Linked DNA regions of Homo sapiens: all the other regions are linked to region 1. The links are contacts of gene promoters, found by promoter capture Hi-C in blood cells and fetal thymus (Javierre and others, 2016). All regions are on one chromosome and are shown on one strand. Each heading gives the region's core, a stretch centred on a gene start or on the middle of the fragment in contact. The rest is flanking DNA. Distances are from core to core; before and after follow the strand shown.

Region 1 (3,517 bases), core at 437-2,936:
CAGACTATCAGAGGTCCCTTGTAGACCCCCGAGGAGGAAGGCTGAGGAATGCACTGCCCAGCACACTCAAGACAGTCATTTGCTGGGGGAGAGGAGGGGCCTGCTCTGTCAGAGCTCAGGGTTTTACACATCCTAAAATCTTTACTTATGGACATCAGGTCAAAGGGAAGGGAAAACACTCAACCACACTTGAAAAGTAACCCGATGTTATTGTCAGCAAATGTGCTGCAGCTGTTTTTGCTATTACAAAAGCTGGTACTTTTGTTGTTGTTAAGTATGAATCTTGTAGGAAATAAAGAGTATGATTCTGGGGAAGCCCCCTGTATAGCACTGCCCACTTTGATAAAAATATCATTTATTCATTCAACATAGGGGACTTCAAAAACAGAGTAATATTCTTTCTTGCTTTTTTTTTTTTTTGGTTTAACTAGGTGTTAGAAGGTAGGAACCACTTTTATTGTCATTTTTTATTCTTTATAACTTGATATGTTATAAACATTATTTATTATCTACTAAATAGCAAATACAAATGATAACTCTTCATTGTTGATGAAAGCCATTTTTCGGGGGTACAGGAAAGGGCATCTTATAGATTGGGAGATGAGGATTTTGATGATTGCCTAGAAGACTTTATTTTGTAATAATCCTGAAGCAAAATGGCATGAAGCTCTGCTGACCTGTGATAACTGTGTGTATTTCCTTCCAGTGTCTCACCAACTGGCAGCCATCCACTTCAGGTGTGCCCGTTGAAGGATGCCACCTCGAAGGAGATGGGACCAGCCTTGTGTTGGGGTGAGGATTCTGGCCACTTGATCTGGGCAGGAGTGCTCTGCTCAGAGTGCAGTGCTCAATCTTACAAGCCTGGCTCGCCTGAACTGTGAAAGGTCAGCAGGACTAAGCTGAGCGCCAGGATTCCAACTTCCCTTCTTCCGCCCCAGGTCTGGCAACTTGTAAATGTGGAGGCTCTGCTAAGCACTGGGATTTTATTAAGGGCCTCGTTAAAATTTACTAGAATCAAATAAAGAAAAGATCCAGCCTTGGAAATCATTCTCCACGCTGTCTCTCCTTCTGACCTCTTCTCAACCCCCATCCCCCACACCATTTATTCATCCGTGAAACCTTTAACAACTGAACTAATTCTGGAAAGTTGCCCATATCAGATATCTTCAGAAATCACTTTGGAAAATGCCTTTAGGAAGGTAGGACACCTCTTCCCATTTGTCTTATGATGGCAGGTCCAGAGCTTACATGAAGAGGCAGTGAGGCAAAGATGTAAAGAATATGGACTCTTCAGTCAGACCTGGGATGAACCCCGGCCATTACCTACTCACGGAGGAGCCTGGGCCACTTATCTAACCTCTCTGAGGCTCACTTTCTGCGTCTATCAAATGAGAATAGCGCTACTATCTGCTGTATGAAACACTGACCGAGTTAAGCAAAATAATGCAGGTTAGCTGCTTAATCCAGTGTCTAGCACATAGCAAGTGCCAAAAATGTGAGCGATTAAAAGGGGTCTTTTACTAGCACTGGCCACATCCCCATCTTATCGCTTTATCTTCCATTGAGCAGAGGTTCTGCCAGGTGCAGGGGACAAGGGAGAAGAAAAGACACGCACATTCTCCTGGGCTTCAAAGTTGTCCCATCCTTCTGTGATGTCATAATCTGAGCCATAGCCCACAAATGTGAACTCCAACAACCCCCAAACCCAGTCCTCACCTCCCACATGCTTTTCATCACCCGCTCTCACATCCCATCTGGGGCCTCTGCTTCCATCCTACCATTTCGCAAGCCTGGCCAACTCAAGCTCCGTGTGCTGCACCTAGAGCAGCCCATCTCTGTGTCAGGTAAGCACGTCAGGGCCCCCAGGATGGGAGACAGGAAAACCTCTTCTGGGGGAAGCCGAAATGGAGCAAAATGGGACAGCTCTTTGGTTTTGTAATTAAAACTGAAACCCGATCCTTCTGCTCTCAGAGACCTGACCACAGGTTTCGTTTTTCAAAGGGCTACCTGGATGCTTATTAAAGGCCAACTTGTGCCCAAGATTGGGTTACTCCACTTTCAGCAGCTGCTTGACCTCTGCCTCTTACGCCCGTTCTGAGATGAAGGCTCATGTGGAATTAAACCCGGGCTAAATAGGTGGCCCAGGGCAGCCGGGGCCCCATGCAGCTCCTCGAAAGACAAATGTATTTTGAGCAGGCCTGGCTCCTACTCCTTCAGGTCTCTGCTCAAATATTCATTCACCTGCCCTCCAAACCTACAGTTACTTACCTCTTCCTTCTTCCTCACATTGTCGTATTTTCTCATGCCACTTACTCTAAAGTGCCTGGTTTATAGATCTGCATACTTGCTCTGGCTTGCAGGCCTCTAGGCTGTTGGTTCCCTGAGAAGAGAGACTGCCTGTCTTGTTCATGCTATAGTTCCTGTGTGTGATAGTTATTGCACTGAGTGGATGAGGGAGAAGGATAAAAGTCATAAAATGCCTCGCAAAAACTTTGAGGTCTGCCTGCCTGGTATTACAGAGAAGCTTGCACAATACAGAATGTTTTGTGGGAAGGAAGGCAGGCAGGCAGGCAGGCAGGCAGGCAGGTTGGTTATGTTTTCACTCTTGATATCTCAAAGCTTTATGACACACTCATGGAGTGAACATAATCTTTGTGGCATGATACAAAGGGACTGAATCACTCAAGAAGATAATTTTATCTGGTAGTATCACCTGCCTTTATACATTATACATGTATTCTTATTCTCTCTCTCCAGCTATATATATCCAGAAAATTTTCTGAACCAAAATTGGCCAGGTCCTGAATACCTAAGTCCATGGAGTGGAAAGTCAGTACAAATTTGATGAGAGCCAGGAAACCTGAAGTACTGGTGGGGGAGAGGATGGTGAGGTGGAGAAGAGAAAGAATAGCCACAGCCAGGGCTTTTCTTTGGCTGAAGCCTAGGATAGACTTAGACAGGTCAAGACCAACGTCAAGCCGGCTTCCTCCACACAGACACACACACTTTCCTTCGCTCCTCTGAGCTGGAAAACAGTGCCTTTTGCACACAGGAATGAAGAGAAGGAAGGAAAATAGGGCAGAGAAGGTGAGCTAGCCCTGAGTGTAGGAGCATTAAGAAGCAACCTCATGCTGGTGCAGTGGTTCATTCTTTTAATCCCAGCACTTTGGGAGGCCAAGGCAGGTGGATCATCTGAGGTCAGGAGTTTGAGACCAGCCTGACCAATATGGTGAAACCCTGTCTCTACTAAAAATACAAAAATTAGTTAGGCGTGGTGGCACATGCCTGTAGTCTCAGCTACTCAGGAGGCTGAGACAGGAGAATTACTTGAACTCGGGAGGCAGAGGTTGCAGTGAGCTGATATCATGCCACTGCATTCCAGCCTGGGTGACAGAGCGAGACTCCATCTCAAAAAAATAAAAATAAAAATGCAACCTCAGAAGGTGGCAATAATGACCTTGTAGATTACAGAACCAAACTTGCAGGAGGGCAAAAAGCAAAACCTTGTCATTGATAA
Region 2 (3,756 bases), core at 90-2,589, 530 kb after region 1:
GCTGCAAGCTAAGATTTAGCCTTCTTAATTATTTTTTGCTTTTTTTTTTTATAACCTCACATTTGCCTCCTTCACACACCCTGCTTAGATGACTTTCAAATAAAGCTAAACTCCCCCATTGGATTGCTGTCTATGGGCTCTTGCCCATGTCTTTTCTGTCTGAAAATGAAGTCTCTCTTCTCGCTTACCTTCTGAAAATCTAATATTGACCTTTTTTGTAAGGTGAGGCATCCCCTAATCATACCTGGAATCCTGGCCACCACAATATCATTCACTTCAGAAAATAAATACAAACTAAATATGACTCCAGATTTAAATGCAGAAACTTGAATAAGCACCACAGATTGGAGTATTTGGCTTTATTTCTTGCTGTGAGTCAGAGCCAGGAGGTTCCCATTAAGGTGTATATGAATTATATTACTCCATGCTGAAGTTTGTCTATAACGTAATGTTGTAAGGCAGCCAAGTTCTTCCAGCAATCTCATGGACCAATATTCAAAACATATCAGTATCTCATTAGATCCTTCATTTTACAAAAAAAAAAAAAGCTTTGCATTCTACTTAGCAAGCTATAGTTACATAGATATTTTGTTTTAGGGAAAAGTAAAATCCGTTTTAAATAAGCTTATTACTTCCATTGTATTGGTACCTATCAGGTTGTCACATTCATCTGGAACGAGTTGCCATGAAAAGAGGAAATAAATGCATAGAATTATGGATGGAGTGTACTTTGATATAGTTCAAAGAAATAGGAGGGGCATTTTCAGGGAAAATTTGTTCTACATCCCCATTACTGTCCTAAACCAGCAAAAAATTCCTTAAGCTAAGTCACATGGCAGGACAAAAACTGTTCAAATAAGCTCAAACCATGAGGAAAAAGGGCAACAAGTATTTTCTCTTCAGCTTCAAACTTCTTTCTTTTCTTCTTGCTCCTCTCTTTTAAATGAATCCTTAAGAATTTTAGGCAAATATATATTTTAAAAAGTGCTGAATTCCAAAATATTTAATAATGGAAGAAAAGAGTTGACTGCTAATCCCCTCCCACATCTACTCCTTATTCTTCAAAAGCCACTTCAAATGAGAACTTGTGAAGACAGCCTCATCAGTAAGTCATCTCTCACCCTAGTGAGTCACCACCTTCAGAGGTGGATGACCTGGTAAGATGAAACATACTGAGATTCAAAAGCTCCCATGGACTGATGGTCCCAGCACTATAGCTGGAAGGTCCCTTTTCTTGCCTTTCTTATGCTGGTGTTCTATGCTAAAAAGAGAGTGATTATTTCATCAACTCCAGAAGCGAGACATGAAGAATTAGGGCTGATAGAACTTGGAACTAAGGAATATAATCACGTTTTCTAGGAAGAGGAAAGGAAATAAACACACTGAAAAAGAAACCCAGCACAAAACAAAAAATTAACACGAATGTATTAAACCTTTAAAGAGTGTATTATTGAGAGTCCTTGAAGAAGTAAACCTGTATTCTCCATGGCCATTGAGAAAAATAAAATAAAATGGCATTGACATATACCTGGAGAAGACAAGTTATATATTAAGCAACGGTTCATGATCAGGCAAGCATCTTCTTCCAAATAGGTCTTTAAAATTGAAATAATGATCATTTCTTGCTCTGAGCAAGCCAGTGAATGAAGTCTGTAGCAGAACCAGTGCATCATGTTTTCCTCCTCTTCCAACCTATTTCGTAAACTCTCACTACTAACTGGTGACAAATGGGTTGGTCCTTGTGTGTTTTGCTCCCATCAAATGTTGCCATGCATTTTCTGTTTGCACATGCCTTATGTCTTCTACTAGTTGGAGAGCTTTTGAAGGAAATAACTCTGGTCTTGCTCATCTTTGCAAGAGTATGCTATGGAAACATCGTTATTAAAGTTTCAGTTTATAAAGCAATATAAGGCAAAAGTCTTATCTGGCCAAATCATCCTTGGAAATTTCTTAGAAAGGGGCAATTTGACAACCATGGGTCATTAAGTCCAACATGGCCAGTTTTCTCTCAGTGCTGGAACAGGCCAGTGTATCATTAAATCCTTTATTTTTATGAAGCTTTACATTCTACTGGTTTTGGTTGACAACCAGTTGGCTGGTGAGTAGGCTTATATTGTTTGAAAATATAAATATAAACATGAGTGTTACGAGATGTCTCAACCATGAAAGGTACACAAAGTGTGATACTGGATAAGAAAAGAGAACATTGCTGTCTCTCATCTCATGCTTTTTTTTTTTTCTTTTTCTTTTGAGATGGAGTCTCACTCTGTTGCCCAGGCTGGATACAGTGCAGTGGCGCGATCTTGGCTCACTGCAACTTCCGCCTTCTGGGTTCCAGCAATTCTCCTGCCTGTCTCCCTAGTAGCTGGGACTACAGGTGCATGCCACCACACCTGGCTAATTTTTGTATTTTTAGTAGAGATAGGGTTTCACCATGTTGGCCAGGCTCGTCTCAAACTCCTGACCTCAACTGATCCACCTGCCTCAGCCTCCCAAAGTGCTGAGGTTACAGGCGTGTTCCTGGCCTCTCATCTCATTCTTACTGCAGTCAGGATCCCATCAGGAAAACAGAAACAGAAATCATGCCAAGTGTTTCAAACAGAGGTGATTTAATATAGGAGATCAGTTATACAGAGTCTGGAGGGCTGAAAGAGAAAAAGAAAAAAAAACAAACAAAAAATGGTGTTCAGGTACCTCTGGTATTTGTAGTATAGAAAGCAGCTAGGATTCTTAGGGCTGGAAGATTAAAAAAGAGTAAATAGTGTTACCAGGACACCATTTCTTGGGGGAAGGGTCTCCACAGAGCAGATTTTCCAACCACCAATGTGTCACTGCACAGCTGGCTCAGCAACCTCTGAGGAGATGTCACGTGATTGCTACTTGGACTCCAGTGGTGAGTGCTAAGAGGGAACGTGGCAGTTCCTACTGGTACCTCTGAAGGAGCCACTGTGGAACTAATGCTGGAAATGCTAAAATAAGCTGGAGTCCTACTTGAGTGCTACTGATGGAAGGACTTCGACCAGAACTGAAAACAGAAAGAGCATCCTTCTACCCTCCTATCACCCTCTGATTTCCTGCCAGTGCCTCCAGTCGGCAGAACCTAACCAGAAGCTAGATAGCAAAAAAGTCTGGGAAATGCAGTCTGCAGATTCCTGCCTCCAGTGTCACAGAGCAGAGTATAAAAGCCTGGGCTTAAGGCTGAGAGACAGACAGTAGGTACAATTACTCCGAGGCACAAATTCATTGAGTGAAATAACAGGCAGAATTTCCTACAATATTTATATTATTTTTCTTTCATTTTTTTGCCATAGTTGAATTCCAGTAAGTTAAATGTATGCATGCTATGAATTCACTTTTTCTTGTAATCCCATAGTTCATTAGCCCAATACCCTGCTTATAGCATGTGATTAATGGAGGTATTGAATGGATAAATGAATGCCTTTTTGGCTTTTTGGTGCTAAGGGGATTTTTCTCTGATTATTAGTCCTGTTTAACTGCCATTGAGAAATGAGTCTAGAGAAAATATATAGGAACCTAAGGGTAAACTTTGCTGTAATTCACTGACATTTCAAATGTACCTATCCAAACAGTTCAATTGGTTTCTATCCCCGGCTATCTCCTGTAACTCTCTACCTTCAGTTTACTCTGGAAAATCTCCACTGCAGCTAGCTACACTTGCATAGCCTAAGAGTGACATCCAGTGGCTTATAACTTAACCACTCATTGTAATACATCTGGAAATCTAACCAGCTCTCC
Region 3 (3,577 bases), core at 803-3,302, 550 kb after region 1:
AAGATAACAATCTCTTCTCTGTAGATTTTTAGTACCCCAGGGATTCAAAGATCAAGTTGCTTAGAGACCCCATGGAATTTGCAGAAAAAGCAAACTCTAATCTTGACATCTGTAATTAATGTTTTTATCTTACTCCTAAAGTTTAGTTTGCTGGCAGCTTAGCTGCTCTTTGGAGCGGAATAAGGCTCTTTCTACACCACGTCCCACATGACTTTCTATCCTGAGAGTGGGGTGGGGAGCTCTGGGGCTCTCTATGGGCTCTTTTCTCTTGGGCTCAGTGTCAAGCTCTTCTTCTAGTTATGTAGTGGTTGCATATATGCCTAGGTTTCCTTCCAATCAATCGTGCTGCAGGTTTCCTAAGCTAGGCTAATGCTTGCCTTGTTTCCAGTGCATTTTATATTGGGCTCACCGACCAATACATATGCATGCGTAGAGCACAGGATCAATTGTAGGTTGTGAAAATATCTGTATAACATATTACTCAGTGAAATGTGAAAATATCTGTATAACATATTACTCAGTGAAATGTGAAAATATCTATAAAATTCTGGTACAATTTAAATATATATCTTTTTCTCAGTAAACAAGACCACTGGCCACTCAGGCAAAAACAAATTAACCTGAGCTGTATATGTACATAAACACACACACATACATGCACATGGGCAAATATGAATTTGTGATTGAGGCATGTGCCAATTCTAATCGCTCCCACATTTTTTTACATAATTATATTGTAACTCTTTGGACTAAGGTGCACAAGTGCTTGTCTGACATACCAATGAAAATGAAGAGAGGTAATCTATCATCCCTCCCACCCTTAAAAGACAACGTAGTCACCTAAGTAGCCAAAGTTGTCACAGAGAATATCATGATCATCTTTTGTGCATTCCACAAACATTTATGGAACTTCTAGTCTGGGGCCTGACATCTTCACTCAGAATGCTACAGCAAGCAAGACAAAGTGGGTCCTGCTACCTCTCAAGTGCTAGAGGGGAGAGAGACAATGAGCAAAGAACAGAATCGATAAAACAATCACCAGATGATGGTAAAAGCCAAGAAGAAACTAAAATAGGTGATGTCATAGAGCGACTGTGGGACTGCATCAGATTGAGAGATCAGGGAATGTGCCAATGAAGGTAACTTATGAGCTGAGACCTGAATCACCAGTGTTTAGGATATAGCTCTATGGTCTAATTTTTCAGGTCATTTTATGATGTGGCTCCTTCATGCACATTTAAATGAAGTGATTAGAATACACACCTGGTGGATAGGGTTCTATATTATACCCTCAGCTACCTCCCACTTCCTTTTTAAGCTTCATTCTAAAATGACATTTTAAAAATGTAAGTGGCAAAGCTAGACCCATTAGCTATAAGTGATATAGAAATCCCAAAAAGATGTTCCAGCAGGGATTGAGCTGGCCTTTTAGACAAAAATAATGAGGTCATTGCTTTGTTGACTGCCATCGACTTGCATATCTCAGCCTCTATCAGTGACCAAAATCATCCAACAAAATGACTCCTTAAGTGCTTATGATGAAGAACAGCTACCAGAACACCCAGGCAAGCATTCTTACACTCATATCTTCTGTGAATCCATCAGCCAGCAGTTCCCATGCTCAGGGTAAGGAGCAGACATATTTCTTGTCAGTAAGTTTATCTATTGAGATGCTGTGGAATGTTCTTATCCATCATCTTGTACATCATATACCATAACTCTTATGGCTTATGACTTGTAGACAACACAAATAGCCACCTGAAGGTGTCCTCATGCAAAATTTTGCTGTTGAGAAAATAACCACTAGTCTTATAACCCTGTGGCAATCCTTTATTCTCCCTAAATACTAATTTTTGCATGTCAAAAAAAGTTAAACAGATGAACTCTAAATTTGAATTTTAGTCTTTTAGATTTCCTAAAAATGATTCAAACAATATTTCCTTGCAAGGGAAGATATAAAACATTTGCTTGAATTCAAGAAAGAGTAATATCTGAGCATTTTGAGCACTGTATCCATTGGGCATATGCATGGCTGCAACTAATGAGAAAGTAAACAGTGGCTTCAACAAATAAGGCTTTATTTTTCTCTCGTAACAAGCAGCCTGGAGGTAGACTTTAGCTGGCTTTTGCTCAGCAGCATCACAATGTTAGGGTCAGCATATCCCTTGCCTATTCCTTGCCTATCCCTTGATCTTTCCCTTATCTTGTCACCTCAAGTTCACAAACTGGCTGCCGCAACTGCAAAAATCATATCCTCATGACTGACTGAAGAGCTGGAAGATTAGTAGAGGCAGGAGGAGTGCCATCCAGGTTTATCTTTCTATATGGGGAAAAAAAAAAGTATTTTATAGAAGCTCCTGCAGCAGCCAACTCCTTTGGTTTCATGTGTCATATGACCAACTCTAGGTCCAAAGTGCCTATGACTTTGCTTCTCCAGCCTGAATTGTGGAAATCCCAGTCTTTTCTATGGTTTTTGGGTCAGCCAAGAAACCATGTCTACCACAATAATTTCTGTATTATATCTTCATATCCCTACACATCTCCTTCATTACACCTCCCAGGATAGTTATCTAGGTAGGGTTTGACTAAAATACGGACATAGAGCCAACATTAAACTATTGAGTAACTGAGATTTTTGAAGGCACTGGCTTATAGGAAATGTTAGCAGGAAAAACCAGTACCAACTGAGTCAAACAGGAAAGACTGCCTCAATGTTTGCCAAAATACATTAAGGCTAGCAGTTGGCTGATTTTCAAAAAATATATTTTCTAATTGTAAAAGAAATATAAGCTTATTTAACAAGAATTTTTGATTGTAGGGAATCATAAAAAGAAAGTGAAAGTCATCTAAAAGTAACTCCCTACATATTTGGTATATTCCCTTCAAAACATTTTTTGTAAGCGTTCTGCACATTTTCTTCCTTTCTCCACTCTGTTCTTTCCGTAACTATGCTAAGTTCTTCTGAAATCTGCTTTCATCTACCGAATATATCCTCGTTCCCTCTGCATATGGTTGCTGTGTTATATCCCATTATGAAGTATCATTGTTAAGAACACAGATCACCCCAGACCATCTGGGTGTCACCCCTAACGTGACCACTTATCAGCTGCATAACTTCTTTGTGGTTCAATTTTGTCATATTTAAGATGAGATAATAATACTATCTATGTACAGGATTGTTGTGCAAATTAAGCTAGTTAATCCTTGTAATGCACTTAGTAGAGTGACAGGCAAATAATAGAGCTCTATAAATGTCAGCCAGTTTTATTGTATGGAAATATGTCAACTAATTTTATTAATCTTGAATTGGTAGATATTCAAATTATCTTAAAATATTTGATTTGATAAATGGCCCATCCATTAATATCCTTGAAAATACATCTTGTCAAATAATGTCCTAAGGATACATTCCCTCAAATATAATTGTTGGGCCAAAGGATATCCACACTTTAAATTTTGACAATTAATTTCAAGCTGCTCTTTAGAAAGCTTGTTCAAAGCCATGTAGGAATTGCCTGTTTTTGGGTAAAGGAAGGTCTATTTTCCCATTCTAGACATTAATTTTTGCCAAACCAGC

The links. Contacts are between HindIII fragments. The CHiCAGO score rates a contact against its expected background, and 5 or more counts as called.
Region 2: a fragment that was not itself captured here is called in contact with the fragment with the promoter of SLIT3-AS1 in region 1 in 4 of 17 cell types (M2 macrophages, M0 macrophages, M1 macrophages and 1 more); the score reaches 8.6 in M2 macrophages.
Region 3: a contact is called between a fragment that was not itself captured here and the fragment with the promoter of SLIT3-AS1 in region 1, in 5 of 17 cell types (M2 macrophages, M0 macrophages, endothelial precursors and 2 more). The highest score is 10.4, in M2 macrophages.

What each region holds. Positions count from the first base shown.
Region 1 is chr5:169,011,541-169,015,057 of GRCh38, forward strand. SLIT3-AS1 (SLIT3 antisense RNA 1) reads left to right here and starts at 1,687. Exons shown (of 5, transcript NR_109897.1): 1 at 1,687-1,844. The region is part of intron 4 of SLIT3 (slit guidance ligand 3); the gene reads right to left. The HindIII fragment of the contact is 2,662 bases long and covers 1-2,522 here.
Region 2 is chr5:169,544,819-169,548,574 of GRCh38, forward strand. All of the region lies in intron 2 of LOC105377714 (a long non-coding RNA gene), which reads right to left. The region is part of intron 3 of LOC105377715 (a long non-coding RNA gene); the gene reads left to right. Among named protein-coding and RNA genes, the nearest start is that of SPDL1, 37 kb to the right of the region's middle. The HindIII fragment of the contact is 1,434 bases long and covers 623-2,056 here.
Region 3 is chr5:169,561,973-169,565,549 of GRCh38, forward strand. The region is part of intron 2 of LOC105377714 (a long non-coding RNA gene); the gene reads right to left. Among named protein-coding and RNA genes, the nearest start is that of SPDL1, 20 kb to the right of the region's middle. The HindIII fragment of the contact is 1,472 bases long and covers 1,317-2,788 here.